Regions from separate parts of the Homo sapiens genome. Here regions 2, 3 and 4 are each linked to region 1. The links are contacts of gene promoters, found by promoter capture Hi-C in blood cells and fetal thymus (Javierre and others, 2016). All regions are on one chromosome and are shown on one strand. Each heading gives the region's core, a stretch centred on a gene start or on the middle of the fragment in contact. The rest is flanking DNA. Distances are from core to core; before and after follow the strand shown. Region 1 holds the start of ATP6V0E1 (ATPase H+ transporting V0 subunit e1). Region 2 has its middle 35 kb from the start of NKX2-5. Region 3 overlaps BNIP1 (BCL2 interacting protein 1). Region 4 overlaps CREBRF (CREB3 regulatory factor).

Evidence for each region. The method cuts DNA at HindIII sites, captures the fragments that hold promoters and counts their contacts. A CHiCAGO score of 5 or more calls a contact.
Region 2: a contact is called between a fragment that was not itself captured here and the fragment with the promoter of ATP6V0E1 in region 1, in 1 of 17 cell types (naive CD4 T cells). The highest score is 5.1, in naive CD4 T cells.
Region 3: a contact is called between a fragment that was not itself captured here and the fragment with the promoter of ATP6V0E1 in region 1, in 1 of 17 cell types (non-activated CD4 T cells). The highest score is 6.8, in non-activated CD4 T cells.
Region 4: a contact is called between a fragment that was not itself captured here and the fragment with the promoter of ATP6V0E1 in region 1, in 6 of 17 cell types (naive CD8 T cells, non-activated CD4 T cells, naive CD4 T cells and 3 more). The highest score is 6.2, in naive CD8 T cells.

What each region holds. Positions count from the first base shown.
Region 1 is chr5:172,982,210-172,985,408 of GRCh38, forward strand. ATP6V0E1 (ATPase H+ transporting V0 subunit e1) reads left to right here and starts at 1,562. Exons shown (of 4, transcript NM_003945.4): 1 at 1,562-1,755. The coding sequence starts at 1,652. RefSeq lists an enhancer at 1,377-1,671 and a silencer at 1,437-1,616. The HindIII fragment of the contact is 8,334 bases long and covers 1-3,199 here.
Region 2 is chr5:173,198,558-173,201,756 of GRCh38, forward strand. No RefSeq gene overlaps it. Among named protein-coding and RNA genes, the nearest start is that of NKX2-5, 35 kb to the right of the region's middle. The HindIII fragment of the contact is 4,940 bases long and covers 1-3,199 here.
Region 3 is chr5:173,160,535-173,163,733 of GRCh38, forward strand. BNIP1 (BCL2 interacting protein 1) reads left to right here. Exons shown (of 6, transcript NM_001205.3): 6 at 3,191-3,199. Among named protein-coding and RNA genes, the nearest start is that of BNIP1, 18 kb to the left of the region's middle. The HindIII fragment of the contact is 1,217 bases long and covers 1,150-2,366 here.
Region 4 is chr5:173,123,908-173,127,106 of GRCh38, forward strand. The region is part of intron 8 of CREBRF (CREB3 regulatory factor); the gene reads left to right. Among named protein-coding and RNA genes, the nearest start is that of BNIP1, 19 kb to the right of the region's middle. The HindIII fragment of the contact is 2,627 bases long and covers 229-2,855 here.

The DNA of each region.
Region 1 (3,199 bases), core at 312-2,811:
GCTCTGTCTCTACAAAACATTTTAAAAATTAGCTGGTGTGGTGGTGCACACCTGTAGTCCCAGCTCCTCAGGAGGCTGAGGCAGAAGGATGGCTTGAGCCCGGGAGTTCCAGGCAGCAGTGAGCTATGGAGCACCACTGCACTCCAGCCTGGGTGACAGAGCAAGGCCCTGTCTCAAAAAACAAACAAACAAACAAAACTGTTTTACCTTTCTTTTTCTTTCTTTCTTTTTTTTTTTTTTTTTGAGGCAGAGTTTCACTCTGTCGCCAAGGCTGGAGTGCAGTGGTGCGATCTCAGCTCATTATAACCTCTGCCTCCCAGGGATTCAAGCGGTTCTTGTTCCTCAGCCTCCTGAGTGGCTGGGACTACAGGTGCATACCTGGCCAATTTTTGTATTTTTAGTAGAGATGGGATTTCACCATGTTGCCCAGGCTAGTCTTGAACTACTGACCTCAGGTGATCTGCCCGCCTCGGCCTCCCAAAGTGCTGGGATTACAGGTGTGAGCCACCATGCCTGGCCTGTTTTTCTTCTTACCATTCTGGCTAATTTCTACTTGTCTTTCAAGGCTCAGCAAGGACGAGTTGGGTAGAAAGCCTTGCAGGGTCGTCCACTTACTTTCACACTGCATTGAGTCGCCTGTTTGCAAGGTCATCTGCTCCCCAGAATGTGAACTCCCTCAGGGGTGCCTGATTGACTTCTGTAACTCCAGAGCCTGGCACAGCACACAAGATAAATAGTGGTGCGCTAGTTAAGAGCTCTGGCCTTGAAAATCAGATAATCAGGGGTTGAATCCTGGCCCTGCCACTTACTATGTGACTTTGGGCAAGATCCTTATCCTCTTCCCTGGGCCTCAGTTTCTTCAACTGCAAAGTGGGGATAATAATTACAATTACCTCATAGGCTGAAGTGAGGAGTTCAACACGGGCTCATGCACTTTTTTTTTTTTCTTTTGAGACAGAGTGTTGTTCTGTTGCCCAGGCTGGAGTGCAGTGGCGCAATCTCGGCTCACTGCAACCTCCACCTCCCGAGTTCAATTGATTCTCCTGCCTCAGCCTCCTGAGTAGCTGGGACCACAGGCGCGCACCACCACACCCAGCTAATTTTTGTATTTTTAGTAGAGACAGGGTTACACCATGTTGGCCAGGCTGGTCTCGAACTCCTGACCTCAAGTGATCCGCCTGCCTCAGCCTGCCAAAGTGCTGGGATTACAGGCGTGAGCCACCGCACCCGGCCTGGGGCTCATGAACTTAAAGATCATGGCCCAGTGCCAGGCACACGGGAATTCAGAATAGTAAGGGACAACTATTGTTAAGTTCTCTATGTCTGTTGCATAAGTAGATGAGGCTGTAGATAACTACACTCTTTGTCTAAAAGGGCCAAGTTCTCATCAGAACACTTTGCTGAGCCCCGGGTGACCGAATCCCTAGCTCTGGGGTGAGCGACATGCCTCCAAGGAGCTGCAGCCAGGAGACAGCCAGGCGAAGGCGGGGCTCTGCCTCTGGGCTCCCCGAGGGGCGGAGGCCGGCGCGCGGGTCACGTGGGGGCGCGGGAGGCGGGGCTTGCACACGCTGGTCACGCGGTCAGCTATTGACACTTCCTGGTGGGATCCGAGTGAGGCGACGGGGTAGGGGTTGGCGCTCAGGCGGCGACCATGGCGTATCACGGCCTCACTGTGCCTCTCATTGTGATGAGCGTGTTCTGGGGCTTCGTCGGCTTCTTGGTGCCTTGGTTCATCCCTAAGGGTCCTAACCGGGGGTAAGTGCGTGAGGCCCGCCTTGGGAGGAACGGGCGGTGAGGAGCTAGCAGGCCGGGGCGGGGAAAGGCACGACCCCCACACGGGTCAGAGAACGTTGCATGGGCGCCCCCCGCGCTGCAGAGTCAGGCCCCCGACCCGGCGGAACTCCTTGTGTTCCTTTTCGCAGCAGCTTCAGTGTCCTCCGGCCTGAGCGAGTGGAGGGTGACCTTTGGTGGACCCCCCTTGGAAACGAGTTTCAGGGGAATTTTTTCTCATCATAGTCCTGTGTGGGGAGGTGCAGTCGGAAATGAGCAGGCCGAATCTGGGAGAAACTGGGGTTTGTCCCTAGTCGACTGTCCCCCTTTAGCCCTGCCTTCCACCCACATGAGGCCTCGTTTGCCTGAACTTAAGGATCAAATAAATAAAACAGAAATTGGCTTCTCTGCCTCCCATGCTGTCGCGGTTGCGTACAGAACAAGCTCCTTCGACAACATTGAGCCCAGGCCTTGCATCTAGTGGGCGCCAGGAGGCGGTTGGGGCCTGATCTAAAGCGAGATTAATTACCAAAGAGCAGGAGGTATTGTTGAGAAACCCCTGCGTCATGCCTTTTGGAGGGCGCTCCGGCTCTTGTATGTGAGTGTAAGAAGTGCTTAGAATGATTGGCTAAGAAAGATTTTGTTTTTCCAGACTTCTTTGTTGGTTAGAGCTTTGTCTCTTTTGGAATTAAACTTTTTAACTGTAGTATAAAATAGAGGCTTAATCTTCAAAGGAGCCTTGGAACACCCTCTTCCTGGTTCCTCTTTTGCTTCTCAGTCATTTTTTTCTCAGTTCAAGATGATGAGAGGTGAAACTTCGACTGAAGTCAGTTTGTCAGAAACACCATCTCTTGCTTTATTCTTGAACCTAATTGGTGGCTTCATAGTGCCTGGTTTTCATAGTACCTTGTATGCACAGGAGGCACCCAATAAATACCTGTTGAGTGAATAGTTCTATTGTCTTTATTAAAAGAAAAAGATTTTTGGCCAGGTGCCGTGGCTCACGCCTGTAATCCCAGCACTTTGGGAGGCCAAGGCGGGCGGATCACGAGGTCAGGAGATCGAGACCATCCTGGCTAACACGGTGAAACCCGTCTCTACTAAAAACACAAAAAATTAGCCGGGCGTGGTGGCGGGCGCCTGTAATCCCAGCTACTCGGGAGGCTGAGGCAGGAGAATGGCGTGAACCCAGGAGGCAGAGCTTGCAGTGAGCCGAGATCGCGCCACTGCACTCCAGCCTGGGCGACAGAGCGAGACTCCGTCTCAAAAAAAAAAAAAAAAAAGAAAGAAAAAGATTTTTACTACTTCCCTAATATTTTGTGACCTGAACCCCTTTTGCTCCCTGGGATACATTTGCTTTATTAGTCTAAAATTATTTTTTTTTAAAAGATACATGGTAGATGAATTTTTATCATTTTTAAGTATCAAG
Region 2 (3,199 bases), core at 282-2,781, 220 kb after region 1:
GATGATAATGGCTAATGTCTATCAAGTACCTACTATGTGACAGGCACTATGCTAAGAGATTTACTTTCTTTCTTTCTTCCTTTCTTTTCTTTCCGTTCCTCCCCTCCTCCCCTCCTCCCTCCCTCCCTCCCTCTCTCTTTTCTTTCTTTCTTTCTTTCTTTTTCTTCTCTCCTTCCTTCCTCTCTCCCTCCCTCCCTCCTTTCTTTCTTTCTTCTTTCCTTCCTTCTTTCTCTTTCTTTCTTTCTTTCTTTCTTCTCTCCTTCCTTCCTTCCTCCCTCCCTTTCTCCCTCTCTCCCTCTTCCTCTCTCTCTCTCCCTCTCTCTCTTTCTTTCTTTCCTTCCTTCCTTCCTTCTTGCTTTCTTTCTTTCTTTCTTCTCTCCTTCCTTCCTTCCTCCCTCTCTCTCCTTCTCTCCCTCTCTCCCTCTCTTTCCTTCCTTCCTTCCTTCCTTCCTTCCTTCCTTCCTTCCTTCCTTCCTTCCTTCCTTCCTTCCTTCTTTCTTTCAACAGAGTCTCACTCTGTTGCCCAGGTTGGAGTGCAGTGGCATGATTTTGGCTCACTGCAACCTCCACCTCCTGGGTTCAAGTAATTTTCTCGCCTCAGCTTCCTAGGTAGCTGGGATTACAGGTGCGCACCATGACGCCCGGCTAATTTTTGTATTTTTAGTAGAGACAGGGTTTCACTGTGTTGGCCAAGCTGGTCTCGAACTCCTGACCTCAGGTGATCTGTCCACCTTGGCCTCCCAAAATGCTGGGATTACAGGCATAAGCCATTGCATCCAGCTCTTTTTCTTATTTGGCTTAGTAACCCTGTGATGTAGGTCCTACTATTCTCATTTTATGAATGAGAGCATTGAGGTCCAGATAAGTTAGTAACTGGCCCTAGGTCACAAGGTCCTGTAAGAGCAGAACGTAGCCTCAGCAGTCTGGCCCTAGGGTCTGAGCTCCCATCAAGTATAAAATAAGTCCTGTAAAGGGAATGCTGAGCTCAGCTGGGGCAGGTGGCAGAGGCAGGATGGAAGAGGCCTCCCTTGACCTGAGACTTGAAGGATGAGGAGGACTTACAGGGAGTCAGACTGGGAAGGGTATTCCCGGCAGAGGGAGCAGCACATGCTAAGGTGCAGGGTGAGATAGATCATGGCTGCTGGGAATCTACAAGTGGTTAAGTGCTGCCAGAGAGTAAATTTCTGGAGGCAGCAGGTGGGAGATGAGGCTGGAGGGAAGGGCTTGTCATGTGGCAGGGATTGTTCCTTTTCTCCTCTATATAGAGTAACTGAATTTCCTGATGGGCATTAACATGAATATCAGCTTAACCCTGCATTTGTCAGCCTCCCTTGCAGCTAGGTAGGTATGGCAAGGTGACTATTTCAGATAATGAGATGAGTGAAAGTTCTGGATTGTGCCCTTAAAGGAACACGAGCCAGGCGTGGTGCCCACGCCTGTAATCCCAGCACTTTGGGAGGCCGAGGAGGGCAGATCACCTGAGGTTAGGAGTTCGAGACCAGCCTGACCAACATGAAGAAACCCTGTCTCTACTAAAAATTCAAAAGATAAAAATAAAAATTAGCCAGGTGTGGGGGCGCATTCCTGTAATCCCAGCTACTTGGGAGGCTGAGGCAGAAGAATCGCTTGAACCCGGGAGGCGGAGGTTGCATAGAGCCAAGGTTGCCCCATTACACTCCAGCCTAGGCAACATGAGTGAAACTCTGTCTCAAAAAAAAAAAAAAAAAAAAAAAAAGGAACAAGAGTGCTCCCCTTCCCTTCTTGGGGTGAAGGAGCCATCTAAGACCAGGAGGTGGCTCCTGCATTTTAAAAATTACTTTTTACCCAATGATTCTGTTAGAGACATGGCTGCCACATGTTAAGAATGAATTGCAGAAGATAAGTAGAGCCTGGATTCCCAATACCATCAAGCCACAAATCAGAGCAAATTTTACACAAAAAAGATAGAACCTTCTCATTTGTTTAGGTAATTGTAGTTTGGGTCTTTTTGTTGTAGCAGCCTAACTTTATCCTAACCATTGCATCATACAACTTCATTATACCATGCAGAGGAATTTAGATTTTTTCCTCAGATCAGGGGCTGCAAATCTAAGGCCTACAGGGACCAGGCAGGCCATGTGGCAGGCTGGATGTTTCTTTTCACCAAGAAATATACTCTTTGCTGTTCTCCTTGAAACAAAGGACCCTCTTCATCTATCTCTAATTCTCCAAGACATGTATATAGAAATCTTTCTCTGTTCTAAACTGCTATAAGAAAAACAACTAGCTGGGGTCAGTGGTATGCGCCTGTAGTCCCAGCTACTGAGGAGAGAGGATCGTTTGAGACCAGGCATTCAAGGCTAGAATGAGCTATGATCATGCCAATGTGCTCTAGCCTGGGTGACAGAGCAAGACCCCGTCTCTAAAAAAATTTTTTTTTAATTGGCACCATCATTTTATTGGGGAGCAATAGGGAGTGGTGGGGACTGTGGTGTAGTGGATGAAGATACCTCAGGTCAAGCTGCCACGGAGCTTCTCTAGTTGCTGCCACATGGGAACAGGGATCCAATTTCTCAGGAGGTTCATGACCTGGATTTGTAAATTTCGCAGTTTATATAGGGGAGGAACTCAGAGGCTGTTGAGAGAGCTGCCACTCAGAGGCCTCAGGGAAAGGCTCGGTCCCACGGACAGTCTGAAGCTCCATACAGCAGTGTGAGTCCTGTGCACTCCAGGCCACCTGGAACCAAGATGATGCAGGACAAAAGAGAAGTCCATTGGGACCAGCACAGAGCCCCACTCCCCGAGCCCTGCTGGCTATGCCGAGGAGGAACAGGAGGCCATTTTCTGAGCTCCTGGTATAATCTTTACAGCTGTGACATAAATATTCATAAAGATCACATACATTGTGCTCGTTTTTTAAAGTTAGCCCTGCCTGGGCCAAACAAAACTAGTTTATGGCCTTGGGTCTAGTGACTGGAAGGCATGATAGAATGTTGAATGAGGACATCAAGGGGACAGATTTGTGTTTCCAAAACACTGTGGAGATTCTGCTTAATTCGGCAAGACCAAAAAATTAAAAAAAAAAAAAAATCGAAGTGTGGAGAATGGGTTGCAGGGCGAGGGCGAGAGACAGCCAGTGTCTGGGCTGGCAGGAGGCAGTGGAGCCCAACCAGGAGATGGTGACCACACTGGTTAGAACCCAGTGCTGCAGCTGAGATGA
Region 3 (3,199 bases), core at 508-3,007, 180 kb after region 1:
GTATTTCTGTTTACTAGAAGACCCCACACCCCCATCGATGTTTCCTCAGGGGGAGCATTCCCATGTGTTCATGTGAAAGGCAGAGGTCCCAGCCCCTCTCCTAGAGAGGGTGTCGGCAGGGCTGGGTGAGGGGCCTGGAGTCTGATTTTCAGTGAGGGCTCTGGGGACCCATATGGCCAGGCAAGTTTGGGAATGGTTGCTCCAAGAGATGTTTGGCGAATCAGCTGCTGGTAGGACTGCTAGGACCTCAGTTTACAATTATACTCCCCAACGTTATTTTTCCTATGAGTTCCTTTTAAAAGATGTGAATCAGAGGCTACAGGAGAGACTGCTTGAGACCATCTGGTTTCCTCCAATAGTTTTCCCAGAGTGTCTCCTCTGTGATGGAGAAGAGTATCAGCCCTCTCCAGGGTCCTTCAGTATAAGACAACAGAAAAAGGGCGTTTACTCCTTGAAACGCTTTTGGAAAATTGCACACGTGGACAAAAGGAGAAAGCATGGTATCCTGAATCCCCTGAGCCCTGAGTCCATTACCCCAGCCAGTCTCGTTTCAGTTCTACCCTCAGCCCATCCCCCATCTGGATTATTTTGAAGCAAATCCCAGACATCATCCATAAATATCTCAGTACATCTCTCTAAAAGATAAGGGACTCTTTGGGGAAAAAGCAGAAGCAACCCCATAACTACAATACCATGATCACCCCTAGAAATTATAATTTTGGACCACTGTTTTTTCAGTGCACCAAATAGGCAGAAGCAAAAGGAAAGCAAGCAGGTGACCCCAAGGTCACTCCTTGAGTTTGCAGCTTACCTGAACATCTGGGCTCGGAACCAGCCAGGGGCTTCCTCTCAGCGTGTGCTGTGGGAGAGGCCTTGGAGAGAGAGGGAGCAAGGCGACAACTTGGCCTCTGAGCCCAGGGCTTTTATGCTCTGGTGTGGCGACAGCATACCCCCCGCTAACAGTGGGAAGGAAACACAAATGCTGGTGGCTTCTGGGGTGTTGAGAGGGTCCCGGTGTTCTTGGGGCCCATTTTGTACAAGCGATAACTATTGAAGAAAAGAGAAGAATACAGTTCTTAACCCTTTCCTTATGCCTCACAAATTCAGCTTGATTTAAAAGCCTACTAGGACCATAATTTTAAAACAAAAAGCTTATTAGGAATATGGTGTCTGGAATTTGCTCCACAATTGCAGGAGTAGTTGCAGTTGGGGGGAGGGGGAGCAGGATTTCAGAGGTTGGTGGTTCTTGGTTATGGGTGGTGGACACATGGCATTTCATGATATTATGCTGTCTGCTCTGTGATGGTTCAAAATTCTCCGTAATAATAAAGTTTAAAAAGAAAGGCCTATTAGATTTTTACTTAGCAAGATCTCAGGGTTTTGAAATCGCAGCAGGCAGGCGTGGAGAAAGCAGGCGGAGAGGGATTCCTGTTCTGTGAGTGTTTGTTTTTCTCCTTTTATCTGTCATTTTCAAAACGCTGCTGTGTTTCCTCTGATAATTTATCCTATTTACTTATTAGCTTTTAATTTTTAAAAAGGTAACACATACAGCATAGAGAAGGATAAGAAAACTCTAGCCCAGGACTGCCATAGAAACGCAACAGCAGCCACGTATGTAACTTTAAATTTTCCAGTAGGCACATGTTAAAAAGTAAAAAGAAACATAAGAAATTAATTTTAGTAAGATGTTTATTTAACCCATTATGTAAAATATTATAATTTCAATGTAAAACTAATATTAAAAACTATTGAGATATTTTACATTCCTTTTTCTTAGATTAAGTCTTTGAAACATCGTGTGGATTTTGGCCAGGCGCGGTGGCTCATGCCGGTAATCCCAGCACTTTGGGAGGCCAAGGCGGGCAGATCACTTGAGGTCAGGAGTTCGAGACCAGCCTGACCAACATGTTGAAACCCTGTCTCTACTAAAAATACAAAAAGAAAATTAGCTGGGCGTGGTGGTGCATGCCTGTAGTCCCAGCTACTGGGGAGGCTGAGGCAGGAGAATCATTTGAACCTGGGAGGTGGAGGTTGTGATGAGCCAAGATCACGCCACTGCACTCCAGCCTGGGTGACAGAGTGAGACTGCATCTCAAAAAAAAAAAGAAAAGAAACATTGTGTGGGTTTGACACTTACATCTCCTGACATCTCCATTTGCATTAGCCACGTTTTTCTATGCACAGCAGCCTCGCATGTCTAGGGGCTGCCATATTGGTCAGCACAGCTCTGGAGAGTACAAAAGGGACACAAAAAAGATCACTCTCTGTTCTGACCTCCAGCTGACCCCTACCTGCCAGCCCTCTGGTCCACTTCCCAGAGGCAACCTCTGTAACCAGTGTCTTAAAAAATATCTTGTGATCCTCCAAGCTTTTGTAACTTAAGCAAATGAAATACCATTTATCTCCCTGTTTCTTACCTAAATGGAAACATTTCACAGGCGTTCCTTTATACTTTCCCTTTTCACTTAATGTGTTCTATTCAATGGCTGTTCTGATGATGCCTTGCTATGTTTTGTGGGAGAACCTCGCCAGGTACACCTTCTACCCTCAGCGTCAGGCCCAGATACCCATATTCAGAAATACATCTGACTCTGGGGACAGTGATTCCTTAAGGGACGTGGGCCTCTTCTTAGGTGTCACCTCCTTAAAGCTACAGCCAGTATCCCTGGCCTGAGGGACTGGTATGTGTGAGGGCTTACGGCAGAGCCCGGGACACCCTTGCCCTTTTGAGATCCTGCAAAGTGCCGGTCTGGCCAGCAGATGTCCTGGAGGCCGCACCTCATAGGTGGAAGGTTCTGGTGCATTTGGCTGCTGCCCCAACACAGACCTCACAGTGCCTGCCCACGATCCCTGGGTTGATTTTGTGGCTGGTGGTTTCCCTGAGCAGCGTCCATCTGCTTCAGAGAGCTGAGGAGGTGGCTGGGTGAGCAAGCCTCTTCTGCCCTTCTCCCTGGTGACGCTCATGTTCAAGGACTCCCAGACAAACCCCCCCTCACTCTCTGGAGCTGATGGGACCTGGGGAGGAGCCTTTCCTTGTCAGCTCCTTGGCTGGTCTCCACATGCTTTGATTCCAGCTCAGAGGAACTCACTTGAGAATGCTGGTTTTTATCAGCACCCCAGCCAGCAGAGTGAGGTCTTTGGATCTTGAGCTGCAGTCTCTGAGTTGGGCCTCCTTCCTCTTTTGTTTCAGTCACTTCTT
Region 4 (3,199 bases), core at 292-2,791, 140 kb after region 1:
CCTCCTGCTTCCATATGGATTAATTCTGTGCTTGACTTTTTCTTCAAATGGGTTGATGCTATTTTAATTTTTTATGTATTCTTTCATAGCATTTCTTTCTTTTCTTTCCTTTTATTTTTAAAAGCATTTTTATTCTTCCTTTATTAGCTACAGGGGGAAATTTAACATTACAAGAAAAAGTTATTTTTACCTTTTTATTTTTTAATATAAACATCTATATGTTTGGTAAGCTTATGTACTCCTTTACACTTGAAAGTCAGTTTTACCAGGTATAAAATCCTCAACTCGTATTTTCTTTCCTTGAGTATCTTGAATATGAGTCTCCATTTTCTTTTGGCATAAAGTGTTGCTATAGAAAAGCTAATACTGGCTGGGCTTGGTGGCTCATGCCTGTAATCCCAACACTTTGGGAGGCCAAGGCGGGCAGATCACTTGAGGTCAGGAGTTCGAGACCAGCCTGGCCAACATGGTAAAACCCTGTCTCTACTAAACATACAAAAATTAGCTGGGCGTGGTGGCAGGTGCCTGTAATCCCAGGTACTTGGGAGGCTGAGGCAGGAGAATCGCTTGAATGCAGGAGGGGTGGAGGTTACAGTGAGCCAAGATTAGACCACTGCACTCTAGCCTGGGTGACAGAGCAAAACTCTGTCTCAAAAAAAAAAAAAAAAAAAGAAAAAAGAAAAGCCAATATTGACTAATTATTTTTTCCTTATAAGTACTTTGCTGTTTTTGCTTAGGTGCCAAAAGGATTTTTTCTTTAAATACCAGTGATTTTGCTAAGTTATATCTTAGAGTTGGTCATTTTTAGTTGACATTTTTATGTTTATACTGTGTTCTTTCAATATGTACTTTCAAATGTTTTTAGTGTTTGATCTGTTCCCTTGCTTTGCTTTTCTTCTGTAGGGACTCTTATTATCTATAGATTGGCTCTTTTTGGCCCATCTTTAGTATTCGTCTGTCTTTCTTTTCTCTTTTCTTCTTCTTTCTTCCTTCTTCTTCTTTCTTCTTCTTCTTTTTTTTTTTTTTTTTGAGACAGTGTTTTGCTCTGTCACCCAGGCAGTAGTGCAGTGGCACAATCTTAGCTCACTGCAGCCTCCACCTCCCAGGTTCAGGTGATTCTCCTGCCTCAGCCTCCTGAGTAGCTGGGATTACAGGCACCCACCACCACACCTGGCTAATTTTTGTATTTTTTAGTAGAGGTGGGGTTTCACCATGTTGGCCAGGCTGGTCTCGAACTCCTGACTTCAAATGATCTTCCTGCCTTGTGTCACTTTTTCTTGAATCATTTTTATCTCTTCATTTTTAACATTATTTCTCCTTTTTACCTTCTGTTTCTCTTAAAGCATTATTTGCTGTCATTACTTGCTGATCTTAGGTTCCTTTTACTTTCAGGAATTTTCCCCTGTATTTCTAATTATTTTCTGAATTCTGTCACCTTATTTCTTAGTTATTCTATTTCTGATTTATGTTCTTTCATGTATCGTGCCATTTTCTTTAATGTCTTTTATTCTCTTTTTTCTTAGAAAAAGTTGTGGGATTCTGACCTTGATACTTCTCTGTTGTTCATATATGTGTGAAATTAGTTCCTCTGAACTTTTAAAAGAAGGTTTGGTTCAGAATAGCTTTTCTTTTTTCACAGAGTCTCCGCTTTTCAGTTAACATTTAAAAACATGGCATCCGGGCACGGTGGCTCACGCCTGTAATCCCAGCACTTTGGGAGGCCGAGGCAGGCAGATCACGAGGTCAGGAGATCGAGATCATCCTGGCTAACATGGTGAAACCCCGTCTCTACTAAAAATACAAAAAAAAAGCTGGGTGTGGTGGCACGCGCCGGTAGTCCCAGCTACTTGGGAGGCTGAGGCAGGAGAATTGCTTGAACCCAGGAGGCAGAGGTTACAGTGAGCCAAGATTGTGCCACTGCGCTCCCGCCTGGGCGACAGAGCGAGACTCCTTTTCAAAAAAACAAAACAAAACAAAAAAACATGGCACGCCAGGTTTGGTGGCTTTTTCCTGTAATCCCAGTCACTTGGAAGGCTGAGGCAGGAGGATCATGTGAGGTCAAGAGTTCTAGACCAGCCTGGGCAACATGGCAACCCATCTCTGAAACAAAAACAAAAAAATGGCACCTGTCTTTCTGAGATTTCTTGTTCTGCTTCCCTCCCTCATTTTATTTGGACCATCTCTGTTTCATATCTTTAGTTCCTTTCTTGCTCAATGTTAATTTCAACCCCAGGGTTTTTTGTTTTGTTTTGAGACAGAGTCTCACTCTGTCGCCCAGGCTGGAGTGCAGTGGCGTGATCTTGGCTCCCTGCAGCCTCTGCCTCCCAGGTTCAAGCGATTTTCCTGCCTCAGCCTCCCCAGTAGCTGGGATTACAGGTGCACACCACCACGCCCGGCTGATTTTTGTGTTTTTACTGGGGATGGGGTTTCACCATGTTGGCCAGGCTAGTATCAAACTCCTGACATCAAGTGATCTGCCCGCCTTGGCCTCCCAAAGTATTGGGATTACAGGCCTGAGCCACTGCACCTGGCCAGTTTTTTTTGTTTTATCACGGCTTGCTCCTGTCCTGCAAGAGTCCTGGCTGGTCCATTTTCAGAGTTCACAGAGGCTCAACTGTGGGCCCCTTCACTTCTGACTGTGGGCTCCTTGTACTCACCTTGTATTCAATATTGGGTTGGAGAAAATCCCTCACAGCGTTAGCTGCAGTTCTCAAGTTGACTCTGCTGTACTTGCCAGTGGGTAACCTATTCGCTATATGGAAATTTTTTTTTGTTCTCATGTCCATTACTTCCTTTTGGCCCATCCACATAAATATTGATAAATATTGATAATGCTGTTGCCATACATGTCTTAAAGCTTTTGGTAGTTTGTTCCTACCTTCTTGAATGTTCCTAGGGATACCTTATCACTTGTAAATGTTTTCCATGGGTTTATGGTTTTGCCATTTAGTTGCTCTGTTTTTATATGGGGAAATGAAGATTAAAAATCTATGTGGTGGCTGAGCACAGTGGCTCATGCCTGTAATCCCAACACTTTGGGAGGCTGAGGTGGGAGGATCGATTGAGGTCAGGAGCTCAAGACCAGCCTGAACCTGGAAGGTCAAGGCTTCAATGAGCAGGGTGATTGCACCACTGCACTCCAGCCTGGGCAACAGAGTGAGACCCTTTCTCAAAAACAACAATAACAACAACTATACAG